4 separate regions of the Homo sapiens genome follow, and regions 2, 3 and 4 are each linked to region 1. The links are contacts of gene promoters, found by promoter capture Hi-C in blood cells and fetal thymus (Javierre and others, 2016). All regions are on one chromosome and are shown on one strand. The core of a region is centred on a gene start or on the middle of the fragment in contact, and the rest is flanking DNA. Distances in the headings are between cores, read along the strand shown. Region 1 holds the start of AP4S1 (adaptor related protein complex 4 subunit sigma 1). Region 2 overlaps STRN3 (striatin 3). Region 3 overlaps AP4S1 (adaptor related protein complex 4 subunit sigma 1). Region 4 overlaps HECTD1 (HECT domain E3 ubiquitin protein ligase 1).

What was found. Contacts are between HindIII fragments. The CHiCAGO score rates a contact against its expected background, and 5 or more counts as called.
Region 2: a fragment that was not itself captured here is called in contact with the fragment with the promoter of AP4S1 in region 1 in 1 of 17 cell types (erythroblasts); the score reaches 5.8 in erythroblasts.
Region 3: a contact is called between a fragment that was not itself captured here and the fragment with the promoter of AP4S1 in region 1, in 1 of 17 cell types (erythroblasts). The highest score is 7.1, in erythroblasts.
Region 4: a fragment that was not itself captured here is called in contact with the fragment with the promoter of AP4S1 in region 1 in 1 of 17 cell types (erythroblasts); the score reaches 5.5 in erythroblasts.

What each region holds. Positions count from the first base shown.
Region 1 is chr14:31,023,772-31,026,898 of GRCh38, forward strand. It overlaps AP4S1 (adaptor related protein complex 4 subunit sigma 1), which reads left to right and starts at 1,878. Exons shown (of 6, transcript NM_001128126.3): 1 at 1,878-2,016. It overlaps STRN3 (striatin 3), which reads right to left and starts at 2,608. Exons shown (of 18, transcript NM_001083893.2): 1 at 2,133-2,608. The coding sequence starts at 2,414. RefSeq lists enhancers at 1,557-1,656, 1,727-1,836, 2,947-3,106 and silencers at 1,826-2,007, 2,147-2,406, 2,497-2,816. The HindIII fragment of the contact is 24,948 bases long and covers 1-1,942 here.
Region 2 is chr14:30,921,989-30,925,474 of GRCh38, forward strand. The region is part of intron 8 of STRN3 (striatin 3); the gene reads right to left. Among named protein-coding and RNA genes, the nearest start is that of COCH-AS1, 34 kb to the left of the region's middle. The HindIII fragment of the contact is 2,282 bases long and covers 749-3,030 here.
Region 3 is chr14:31,093,585-31,097,068 of GRCh38, forward strand. AP4S1 (adaptor related protein complex 4 subunit sigma 1) reads left to right here. Exons shown (of 6, transcript NM_001128126.3): 6 at 1-2,866. Among named protein-coding and RNA genes, the nearest start is that of STRN3, 69 kb to the left of the region's middle. The HindIII fragment of the contact is 1,452 bases long and covers 720-2,171 here.
Region 4 is chr14:31,129,735-31,133,076 of GRCh38, forward strand. All of the region lies in intron 24 of HECTD1 (HECT domain E3 ubiquitin protein ligase 1), which reads right to left. Among named protein-coding and RNA genes, the nearest start is that of HECTD1, 76 kb to the right of the region's middle. The HindIII fragment of the contact is 3,591 bases long and covers 1-3,226 here.

The sequences.
Region 1 (3,127 bases), core at 628-3,127:
CCTAAAGCAAACTAGAAACCTTATTAAGTTAACCCAATAAAACATTTTAAATATATAACTCAAAAAAAAAAAAACCAACGCCATCATGAACATTTTATTCCAAAAGAATCAGTATGAAATAAAAAAGAGTCTAGAAACACTGTAGGACTTCTTCAAAACAAGGAAACAAACAAAAACTTAGGATGGCTAATAACAGTACTGTACCAATAGAATTGAAAGCAAGCAAGCAAGCAAAAGGAATCTACCTTAAAACACTGCTGCTGCTGTTAAGGAGACCTAGAAGGGAAAGCAAATGCTAGAGCAGGCAATAAAGGCTTCTTTAATATATAGTATAGGTTTTACTAATTTGGGCACAAGATATCTTTCTTCTCAGCTGCTTACATTAGTGAAGTTTATGGGTGAAAAATGCAATTGCTAACTTGAAGAGTGTTGAAATCCAAACTTGCATACAACAGTACAAAGGTCTAAGAAACCATAGCAGGGACTGGTGAAGTATTATTTAGTGAGCTTAGGCCTTACTGCATTTGTCAATCCAAATTTTAAAAACAAATGCCTTACTTACTTTACTCACACAGAAAATTAAGTTTGCAGTATGTAGTAGAAAGCTGTATACCAACAGAATTCTATAAATTTTAAGTATGTTAAAGCAGACTGTACACAACTTAAACCAGTTTTGACTTCAGCTTTTTTAAAGTTATGTAATTTTAAAGCCCAATATTATATCAAAACACAATTGTAAAGCACTGAAATGACTAACAAGTGTTACTTTTTTTTAAGACTTCATACAGTGTCAAAATACCCAAGTATTTTTTACTTTTGAAAAGTTTAACTTCACCCACTTTGTGGAGTCATATAAAAGTTTACTAGTTCAGAACCAAACTAAAGAGATGCATATTTGAGGACACCCTTTCTAGTTAATCCAATCCTCCTCCTTTCAGCACTACATTTGCCTAACGATTCACCATAGGCATATGACATATATGACAGCAAATACTGCTTACCCCCTAAATACACAACAGTCTGAAGAACAGGTGCAATACTATTTAGACACACGCTTTTTCCTTCTAAGCCTAAATTTGCCCTGGAAAGGTATTTAAAAATAAACACAAATACCCAAGAAAGTTAAATAACCCTTTCAAAAAGATGCAGCAATTTTGAGATCCAGGACATGAGCTGTTAACTACCAACAGCTTCCAAATGTGCAGCCTATCAAAGGTTCACATTATGAGGATCGAGTCAAGCTCAACTATGAAGGGTTCCGAGAACATCTCACTTTGCTTCTCCTGCAAGAGTAAGTAACATGATATAACTACGTTTCACTTCAAGGGAATATTAAATCTCTTCAGTCGTTTCATAAATACAGCATCGATCGTCTGGTTTGGTTTTTTTATAGATAAAGAAACGGATGGGGGAAAGGAGATCTAGTGGAGAGTACTGTAAAAAGAAAAATTCAGTGCTGAAAGCGTTGATGAGTCACTAAGTAAGGAATAACTACAGAGAATCCAAGTGAGTAAGGCAGCATCTCAGGTGAGAAAGTACTTAAAGTTGACGATGGGAAATAAAACTTCACAGGTCAGTCCCAAGTCACTGTGCACCCTAGCAGCCCAGGAAAGAAGCGTGGCTGTCAAGGGGCAAGCGCGTACCAAGTCTGAGGGAGGGGGCCAGATACGCCAAATCGGAAAGGGGGGTGGTCCGGAAAAGGGGGGTAAGATGCCTATCCTAGTCCCTCTCTTCGGGCTCTTCATCTCAAGAGGAACAAACAAGAGCAAACTCAGTGTTGAGAGGCCCCAAACCGGACTCTCCCACAGAGAGGTGCTCGGTCCCAAGCCCCGGAGGCCCGGGAAGGCCGCCTCCGGAGGAGCCCCCGCAGACGCCATACTAAAAGCCAAAATGGCTGCCCCGAGGAGGCCCGCACCGCGTAGCCAGTGAAGGTTGGGGAGCAAGCTTATGCGGGAAAGAGGGAGGGGGACTCCAGGAAAAGCCGTTGAGAGGACCATCACAACCTGAGCAGCACAGGTAGGTTCCGCTCGGCCTCCCAAGGCGCCGGCTCCGGCTGAGTGGAGTCCCCAGCCCCACCCCCCGGCCGGGAACCCAGCCGCCGCAGCTCCCGCACACCGACCCCAACGAGGTACCTGCAGTTCGGCCCGTTCCACCTCCCAGTGCGCCCGCTCCATCTCGAACCGAGCCCACTCGTGCTGGATGTAGTGCAGTATCCCCGGGATAGTGTACTGCTGCGGCCGGGACAGCTCGGGGCCTGCCGCGGGACCCGCTCCCTCGGAGGCCGGAGGACCCCCGCCGCCCGCCGCTCCGTTCCCCCCGGGCGAAAGGCCCAGGTTCCCCCCAGGTCCCTGCTGCTGCCGGGGAGGGGCCGCCATCCCCGGGCCGCCACCACCGCCTCCGGCAAGCTCGTCCATTGTGTGTGGGGCCCCGGCCGGGGCGCAGGGCGAGACGCCGACAGCTGGGGGAAGGGCCGGAGAGGGTGGCCCCGCGCTGGCTGCGGGGCGGAGGCCGGCCGGGAGAGGGGCGGGGAAGGGGTCGTTGCTGTGTGCCTGCCGTGGGTCAGAGCAGGGAGCTGCCGGCTGCCGCCATTACAATCCCTCCTCCATCTGCCCGTCTCACTCACTCACTTTAGGGGAAGGGGGGGCCTCGGCGGGAGGGGTGGGGGGAGAGTTGGGAAGGGGATAGGCGGAGGGCCGTCACTAGCGCACAGCATGCTGGGTAGCGAACGCAGCCTCACGCTTAATCGCCAAATAGAGTCCGGCCTCACCCTACGCCGGCGCACTGAGAACGCAGCCCGGGTCGCCGTTAGAGGGCGGGGAAAGAGCTCGGGCTCCGCCCCTAGGCCCGCCCTCAGACCCGATCCGGTGTCTGGCCGCAGCTACCGGACACCTGGGCTCCGACTCTGACTTTTGGAAGCGAGGCGGCCTTAGGCTTCCTGGTTATCAGTTTCCTTTTAGCAGGCCGTCCCCGGGCGCTGTTTCCTTCCCAGGGGTCTCTCACCCGTGTCCCGGCTTTCTGAGCTGGTTGTTAACCTGGCTGGTCGCTCTGGCCGACCGCATCCCGTCTCGGATTCCTGACGTTTCTTTTTCATTCTTTGAGTGTTTCAGGCAGTCCCAAGGGTGGGCCC
Region 2 (3,486 bases), core at 640-3,139, 100 kb before region 1:
TGATCCTTCCGCCTCAGCCTGCCCAGTAGCTGGGACCACAGGCACGTACCATCAAGCTTGGCTAATTTAAAAAAAAATTTTGTAGAGACAGGGTCTCACCATGTTGTCCAGGCTGGTCTTGAACTCTTAGGCTCAGGCAATCCACCTACCTCAGTCTCCAGAGTAGCTGGGACCACAGGCATGCACTACCACACTCAGCTAATTTTTGTATTTTTTATTTTTGTAGAGATGGTCTCACCATGCTGCCTAGCCTGGTATTGAGCTCCTGGGGTCAAGCAATCCTCTCTCCTAAGCATCCCAAAGTGCTAGGATTGCAGGCATGAGCCACCATGCCCAGCTAGAAAAACTTTTCTACTACTATGAATACAACCCACCTACCTCTTAACAAATACAAAGTCCTATATAAATGCATAATCCTCTAGACTGACACAATGAAAAACATACTAATTATGCCACGTGTAAGCCAAACTATAGACTACTGTTACATTTTCAAATTCCGCTCAAACACACATACTCATGCCATGAAATTTATCTTCCTACGCCCTATATAACTGTAAGTAAAATAGTACTTTTGAACAAATCTAACATTTCCCCTTTCTCAAATGAGCCCTCCCTTTGTTGATCAACTTTTATATTCTGAAGCTTAACTGTTAGCAGGCAAACAATCTGGAAAAGATACGCTTATTTTAGCACAAAAATTTAGTTAAGTCATGTTTGCTAGATCTGTTCTATTTTCTATCATAATTAAAGCTTTCACAGCTTTATTTAATTTATTTAAGACAATTGTTGTCTTAAATAAATATGAGATCACAATAATAAGAAAAAATAACTTCAGCTGCAAAGTGACTCTTCGGTTTTAAAAAGTGCACTGATTAGAGTATCAATCTGATACATTCTGATCCTAGGCAAAATACCTAAGTTATTTTCTTGAAAGAAAAAAATCCCGAGTTAAAGGACATGAATGTTTGTTTTTAAAGAATGAAATTAAAGCCAGTAACATAAAACCACATGCCTAGTTGAAAATAACATCTCTTTGCTATGAAACAATTTTGTTTTTGTCTTTGAGGGAGGAGAGAGAATATAACTATTTTGTGGGCTCTTCGAATTAGTACTATGTGCTAAACGGAAGTAGCTTAATCATAACAGATAATTTGTAGTGTGAGCAAAGGTGTTTTTAAAAGCCTACTTAAGAGTAAGTTCTTCTTAAATGTATTCAAATACCTAATTTTGGATATTTGGCTTCAAGTCACACTTTAAACAACTGTATTTCCTGGTGACAACATGTTTTCTTGGATCTGGAATAGTAAATGACAAATATTAATACAAAACTTTAAAAATAAAAATTAGAAAATGACTTGGGGGAGCTCACTTATGATTTATATTAAAAGAAATGTTGAAAAAGTTACAAGACTTCCCCCTTTTCAAATGTATTGATAATCAGGCCAGAAGGTGCATAGCAATTCTGCAACACCAGTAACGGAGAGAAGGGAAATGGCAAAAAAGTCATATTCCATATATAGAAAAGACAGAAAAGTTAAGATAAACGAGAATAATTAGGAAAATTAAGATAAGTCCACTCACTAAGAACCAGGAATGCAAACATACATATTCCCCAAATATGAATTTTTAAAATGGGGAAAGCCTATACATCTTTTCAAGAAAGGAAATGAAATAATCTTTTCTTGGTAAGTTTAAATTTTATAGGTATAATATAGCTTAAGAGTAACAACAGGCTATAAGAATAACAGCTCCTATCAAAGGAAAATACATTATTATAATCCACAGTTTAAATTGTCCATGTTGAAAAAGAGTAACAAATATCAAAGAAAGTCTTAAAAGATTTTTAGCTGCTCTCTCATATTCTAACTAAAGCCTCCATATTTCAGATGCTTCGTTCATACTGTGATTTTTAATCATTGATTTATATGTTTTTACTAAGATATAAAATACAGCACAAATGGAGACCTTAAAAAGTTAGAAAAATGCTACCAGCCCAAAATTTTTACAAAAGATTAATTCAAGCTCCTCCCAAATTACAGAAAACATAGAAATTATTAAAAAGTGAAAGAAAACTGAGTTTTAGCTTAGATATTAGTATTGCATCAACACTTACTTCTTGATTTTCATGACTGTACTGTGGTCATACATGAGAGTATCTTTGTTTAAATATATACTAATATATTTAAAGAGCAACATGTCTACAACTTAGTTTTCTGAACTACTCAAAAAAAAAAAAACAAAAAAACAAAAAACAACAAAAAAAAAACATGGCCAGGTACAATGGCTCATGCCTTAAATCTTTTTTTTTTTTTTTTTTTTGAGATGGTCTCCCTCTGTCGCCCAGGCTGGAGTGCAGTGGCGCGATCCTGACTCACTGCAACCTCCGTCTCCTGGGTTCAAGCGATTCTCCTGCCTCAGCCTCCCCAAGTAGCTGGGACTACAGGCATGAGCCACCACGCCCAGCTAATTTTTTTTGTATTTTTAGTAGAGACAAGGTCTCACCATGTTGGCCAGGCTGATCTCAAACTCTTGACCTCAGGTGATCTGCCCGCCTCAGCCTCCCAAAGTGCTGGGATTACATGCATGAACCACTGCACCCAGCCTCATGCTTGAAATCTTAATGCTTTTGGAGGTTGAGGTGAGATGATCAGTTGAGGCCAGGAGTTTGAGATCCGCCTGGGCAACATACAGAGATCCTGTCTATTAAAAAATGTAAAAATTAGCCAGGCATAGTGGTGCACACCTGTGGTCCCAGCAAGGCGGGAGTGGAAAGATTGCTTGAGCTCAGGAGTTTGAGGTTGCAGTGAGCTACAATGTGCTACTGTACTCCATCCGAGGCAGCAGAGTGACAGCCTGTCTCAAAATAAAAAAGAATATATTTACAGAAAGGAAAGGGAAAAGCAAGTGTGGTAAAGTGTTAACATTTGGTGGGTAACCTGGGTGAAAAGTATATGGAATTCTCTGTACTATTCTCACAAAATTTTCTTAAGTCAGAAATTATGTCAAAATAAAAAGTTAAAAGGAAAAGAAAGCTTAACCCTTTGAAGCCTGAGACCAAAATAACTGCATCAAGCCTCTTTAGTTTCTTAGTTTCAAGGTACTGACTCTTAGAGTACTAATAAGATAAAGTGCATCTCAATTATATTGTATATCTCACTTAGTAAGAAAGAAATACTGAAGTGGGTCTACGTTCCAAGACAAGGCTGTCACTTTTAACCCCTTTTCCTCTTGCTGGGGGGAGGGGGCGGGCAGGGGGGTAAAAAAAAGAAGGGTGAGATGGAGTGAACGAGTTGGGAGACACAGAAACTTTAACTTAGCACTTTTAACTTAGCATTTAAAAGTCAAATCTTGAATGGGTCTTTACAAAGTTAAGAAGTCAGTATTCTTGCCATTTTTCTCTTTCCCTTCCAAAAAAAAAGAAAAAAGACTGGATTACATCTGCTGATTCCATATGGTAAAGTTAGCAAATAGTTTTCTTCCCTCTAA
Region 3 (3,484 bases), core at 196-2,695, 69 kb after region 1:
TACAGGCATGCACCACCACACCTGGCTAATTTTTGTATTTTTAGTAGAGACAGGGTTTCACCATGTTGGCCAGGCTGTCTCAAACTCCTGACCTCAGGTGATCTGCCTGCCTCAGCCTCCCAGAACGCTGGGATTACAGATGAGCCACAGTGCCTGACTTCTGAAGGCTGTCTTATTCCTTTAAAAGGCTTAGTAAAATTAACTTTTTAAGAGGTGTTTTTTTGTTTGTTTTTTTGTTTTGTTTTTTAAGACGGAGTCTTGCTCTGTCACCCAAGCTGGAGTGCAGTGGTGTGATCTCAGCTCACTGCAACCTCCACCTCTGGGTTTAAGCAATTCTCCTGCCTCAGCCTCCTGAGTAGCTGCGACTACAGGCATGTAGTCCCCAGGAGACTGAGCTGTGATTACAGATGTGAGCCACCATGCCCTGCCCGGTTTTATGTAAAGCCCAGCTAATTTTTGTATTTTTAGTAGAGATAGGGTTTCACCATGTTGGCCAGGCTGTTCTTGAACTCCTGACCTCAAGTGATCCACCTGCTTCAGCCTCCCAAAGTGCTGGGATTACAAGCATGAGCCACCATGCCCAGCCAAGAGGTGTTTTTTGTTTGTTTGTTTTTAAGAGAAGCAGGTCTTGCTGTGTTGTCCAGGCTGGACTGCAGTGGCTTTTCACAAGCATGATCATGTTGTACTACAACCTTGAACCTTCCTGGCCTGGCTCTAAAAGCTTTGTAATGTGGGGCTGGTGCAGTGCCTCACACCTGTAACCCCTGCACTTTGGGAGGCTGAGGAAGGAGGATCGCTTGAGGCCAGAAATTCAAGACCAGCCTGGGCAACATAGACCTCATCTCTACAAAAAATGCAAAAATCAGCCGGGTGTGGTGGCACATACCTGTAGTCTCAACTACTCGGGAGTCTGAGGCAGAAGATTTCTTGAGCCCAGGAGTTCGAGTCTGCAGTGAGCTATGATCGTGTCACTGCACTCCAGCCTGGGTGACAGAGTGAAACCCTGTCTCAAAAATAAAAAAGTCCGAGTGCGGTGGCTCAGGCCTGTAATCCCAACATTTTGGGGGGCCAAGCCAGGAGGATTGGTTGAGCCCATTAGTTCAAGACCAGCCTGGGCAACACAGCAAGACCATATCTCTACAAAAAATAAATAGGTGTGATGGCTCATGCCTGTAATCCTAGTACTTTGGGAGGCCGAGGCAGGCAGATCACTTGAGGTCAGGAGTTTGAAACCAGCCTGGCCAACATGGCAAAACCTTGTCTCTACTAAAAATACAAAAAGTTAGCCAGGCATGGTGGCAAGCACCTCTAATCTCAGCTACTCAGGAGGCTGAGGCAGTAGAATTGCTTGAACCCGGGAGGCAGAGGTTGCAGTGAGCCGAGATCATGCCACTGCACTCCAGCCTGGGCGACAGAGTGAGACCCTGTCTCTAAAAATAAGTAAATAACTAATTAAAAAGTTAGCCAGCTGTGGTGGTGAGCACCTGTACTCCTAACTACTCAAGAGGCTGAGATGGGAGAATTGATCAAGCCTAGGAGTTTGAGGCTGCAGTGAACTATGATCACAACACTGTACTCCAACCTGGGTAATGGAGTGAGGCCCTGCCTCAAAAACACAAAAACAAAACAAAAAAACTTTTATAACATGTACCTAACAAAGATGCAGAGTTAAATTTTATTTGCCAGTTTGTAAAAGCCTTTGATACTCATTTTAAGGGCACTTAGTAATTACAATGCCATTATGTAATTAACTCTATAGAGAACATTACTTTCAAATAATGGATGGTCAGACATTAAGACAGCCCCAGAGAGCCCCTACAGCTATCCTTTATCCCGTTTTTTGTTTGTTTTTTGGAGACAGCATCTCCGTCTCCTAGGCTGGAGTGCAGTGGTGTGATCATGCCTCACTACAGCCTGTACCTCCTGGGCTCAGGTGCTCCTCCCACCTCAGCCTCCTGAGTAACTGGGACCACAGGTGCGCACCCCCTCCACCCAGCTAATTTTTGTATTTTGTTGTAGAGATAGGGTTTCACTATGTTGCCCAGACTGGTCTCGAATTCCTGCAGTCACATGATCCATCTGCCTTCGCCTTCCAAAGTGTTGGGATTACAGGCCTGAGCCACTGTGCCCAGTCTTTTTATGCCACATTTTAAAAGGTTTGCTTATTAATAAGCTTACTGTTAATGAAATTTAGTTCAAAGTTTAAAAGTAGAATGCAGCCAGGCATGGTGGCTTACGCCTATAATCCCAGCACTTTGGGACGCCAAGGTGGGTAGATCATTTGAGGTCAGGAGTTCAAGACCAGCTTGGCCAACATGGTGAGACCCTGTCTCTACTAAAACTACGAAAAATTAGCCGGGCATGGTGGCACGCGCCTATAATCCCAACTACTTGGGAGGCTGTGGTAGGAGGATCACTTGAACCCAGGAGACAGAGGTTGCAGTGAGTTGAGATCGAGATTGTGCCACTGCACTCCAGCCTGGGCACAGAGTGAGATTCCGTCTCAAAAAAAAAAAAAAAAAAAAAAGTAGAAAGCAAGAAAGTGTCTCTGTACAGGTAGGCATGAAATGAATCCTTCTCTTCCTCCCCTTTACTCCTTTAACCCCTTCTCCTGCAATGTCTTGAAGTAAATTACTGTCATTACAGAAGAGCAATGCACTGCATCCCCCCAAAACCTTTCTATATGCTTTTGCTACCCCGTTAACAGAAGAATATACAGAACTGTCTTAGGCGAAAGTATGTACAGTAGTCCCTCTCTTATCCACTGTTTCGCATTCTGTGGTTTGTGTTACTCATGGTCAACTGAGGTCCCAAAATATTAAACAGAAAATTCCAGAAATAAACAATGTATAAGTTTTAAACTGCATGCCATTCTGAGTAGTGTGATGAAATCTTGCACCATCCCACTTTGTCCTGCTCTGTCCCGCTCCGTCTTGCCTGGGAGGTGAATCGTCCCTTTGTCCAGCATATGCATGCTGTATACACTCCCCACTTGACAGTCATTTGGTAACTGTCTTGGTTACCAGATGGACAGATCATGAGAAGAGTGAGTACAGTGCAATAAGGTCTTGAGAGAGACTACATGCATATACATATATATATATAAAATTATTTTTCGTTTTTTTTTAAAGACAGGGTCTTGCTCTGTTGCCCAGGCTGCAGTGCAGTGGCATGATTACGGCTCACTGCAGCCTCAACCCCTTGGGCTCAAGCAATCCTCCCATCTCAGCTTCCCAGGTAGCCGGGACCACAGGTGTGTGCCACCCCACTCAGCTAATTTTTTTTATTTTTTGTAGAGACAAGGTCTCCATATGTTGCCCAGGCTAGTCTTGAATTCCTGGGCTCAAGCGATCCTCCTTACCTCAGCCTCTGAGTGCTGGGATTACAGGTATGAGCTAACACACCTGGCCATCTTTTGTTTTGTAAGAGATGGGGTCTCTGTTACCCAGGCTGGATTTGAACTCCTGGGCTCAAGCCATCCTCC
Region 4 (3,342 bases), core at 181-2,680, 110 kb after region 1:
TCCTTTTATTTCCCTTATTTCTGAACTATTCAGTCTATGACATTTAAAAGCAATGTAAGGGTCATGTTTAAATCTACTGGGTTATATTTCATTTTTAAAATTATTTGATTTTTAGAGATGAGGTCTTGCGTTGCCCATGCTAATCTTGAACTCCTGGGCTTAAACGATCCTCCCACCTCAGCCTCTGGAGTAGCTGGGATTATAGATGTGAGCCACTGCACCTGGCTTGGTTACTTCTTAAATGGAAGAACTGTTTAAGAAATTTTAAAAGATTGATATACATGGTAAAATACTGCCACTTCAGCAAGTAAACAGAATCTAGGTAAAAGTTTTAAAACTGCTAAATATAATTATGTGTAGTCAAATTTTTTTTCTACAAAAACATGCCAGCTTACCATTAATTTCTTACAATTTGGGCTAACCTCTCAAAATATTCATATATTGCCATAGAAATTTTAGTCACTAGTTCAAATAAAACACTAAAGTTAGCATTTCGGTTGTGTTCTCAAAGTTCAGTGGTTCCTTGGTTCTCTTATATTAAATAATTAAGTTCAATAAATTTGAATAAACACAGAAAATTCTAAAAAAAAATTTAAAGAGCATACTGAACTCTTTTATTAGAACTATCTGCTAAAGCTAATAACATGTACAGAATTAACGAGCATAATGATATTCAATCTATATATTTACTTGTAGTAGAAAAATGATATTCTTTTTTTAAAAAGGTAATTAACTTCCAAAAGCAAAAAAAAAATTGTCTATTAAAAGCAAATTAATAGAAATTTTACAATCTTATTTTAGTGTTATAAGCTAACTATTTCAGGGAAAAACATAAGACATAAAAAACATTTTTTTAGAAGTATAACAAGCCTTTATAAAGTTCTTACCCATACATAAAAGGGGCCCAAGATCACATACACACCCATCCACACACCCAGATGCTCACCCACACTTACACCAAGTTCATATGTTTATGATAGCACTCAGAGGGAAATAATATTGAATTACCTGTGGGGATTATCTGCATATGTGTTCTTTGAAAGGAAAAGTGACTGCCCCAAATCTACATAAGTAGCTTAGATGAGATTTTTCAATTGCCTCTATTTTTTTCTGTATGCTGAAATAATCTCTGAAGAACCAACATTTAACTATCTCTTCTGCTACACAGAAATGTGTGAGAAAAGGAAAAGTTTCAAAAACATAGCCCAATCTCAAATAAAAGTAACTTTTGTATTATATTAATTGGCCCAAAAAACATACTCTCTCAACTCCTTCTACACCCAAAAGATAAACCAAAAAAAAAAAAAAATAGAGTCAGTAATGACTATCCATCATTAGAAATGGTTGGTTTAAGTATTTGAAAGCTAAGAACCCTCTCTGACATAGAGACTCAAAGGCATAACTTGATGGGAATGGCCATGTTGATTAGGCAAAACTAAATTTCTACATTTGTCAGATTAGCAAAAATAGGCCTTTCTTGAACGCTAAACTCTGAGATTTCTAGGCTAGGTGATTTTTTTTTTTCCCATCTGTGGCAGCTAAAACGAACAAACAAACAAAAAACACTCAAAATATTCAGATGTACATGTTAGCACTCTCTCATAGGGAGGTGCCATACCTCACGGTTCAAATATATTTTATAGATCAGTAACATTATTATACTGACATGTAATTGCAACTTACTATGCAGCAAAAATGAATCGAGAAGAAAAATAACCCACAGTGTCTATTTACCTTTGTATAGGCAATTGCTTAAGTTACTCTGCTTTTAACATTTGTACTTCAATAAAATGCTTATGTATGTATAGGAATGTCACAGTGCAAGATGCTGCTAGTACAGGCACAAAGTATTAAAATTATTTTTTGAAGACTGGTGGTTGTATTAAAACTGTTGTGCCATTGTATCTTGGGAAAAAAAAAAAGATTCTAATTTCCCTATGCAATTGCTTCAGTTGACTCCATCCTGAGAAAAAAGAACTGCATTCACACATCTCTAACTAGCCTCTTCTTATCAAGTCACATACATCAAGGCCAAAACAATTACAGGAAATAGAATAACAACTTTTTAATAAGTATCATCAAGATGCCTAAAAAGAAAACTTGAAATTTTCTGAGTTGAATGGCACTACTATTCAACTCAGTATAACAATAATAGTTGATATCTCAACTATTACTGGTATTTATGAATTTTAGGTCGCTGTAAACCTGTTTTGATTACAATGATTTGCAATTAGGGCATGATACTACATAAATACATTTGGCAGTAAAATAATTCAAGGAATAGAATCTTAAAAGCAATATAGTCAAAGGGTTTATTTGAATAAATAAATGTCTTTACCACATAAAACATGAAATTAAATGTCAGTCATTCTCGTAAGTACCGTCACATTTATTCTAGCTCTTTAAATATGTGGTGTAAGTTGCCGCGTGCGGTGGCTCACGCCTGTAATCCCAGCTCTTTGGGAGGCCGAGGTGGGTGGATCACCTGAGGTCGGGAGTTCAAGACCAGCCTGACCAACATGGAGAAACCCCGTCTCTACTAAAAATACAAAATTAGCCAGGCATGGTGGCCCATGCCTATAATCCTAGCTAGTCAGGAGGCTGAGACAGTAGAATCGCTTGAACCTGGGAAGCAGAGGTTGCAGTGAGCTGATATTGCGCCATTGCACTCCAGCCTGGGCAACAAGAGCGAGACTCTGTCTCAAAAAAAAAAAAAAAAATACATATATATACACACACATATATGTGGATATATATATGTGGTGTAAGTTGAGAATATAAACATTTTTACTTTTTTTAATGCCAAAAACTGATACAAAATTGATGAAAACAAACCCACTGCCATTTAGGCAAATTATCTGCTAATAAGTCAGCCTTATAGTTTGAAGAAAATAATTAGCCACTATAATTGCTTTAAAGTTAATAGCAATTTATTAAGTGGATGACTTTGCTAAACTGTGCAGCATCAAAGAAACTTGATTCACATAGCAATATTTAGAAAACATGATAAACTCCTCCCCAAAAAGCAGGTAGGCTAAGAAACACTTTGAAATAATAATAATCTACTAACAGATAAAGAGACAATGTTTCTTGTTCCATGCATTATTAAAAAACAGTAAAAATGTTAATCCTTTTTCTTCTATATGATTTATGATACCATAAAAATTATGGTGTGAGACTAACAAGATAAAGAAAAACATAAGAAATTAAAATAAAACTCACAGTAAGCTTGAAAATAAACTAGGGGAAAAAACCGGAAGTGTGTCTTGAAGATACTCAACTTACACTAGGCTTGATCACTTCCAAAATACTACCAGTAAGTTTCTAGTCAAAACCCAAGAA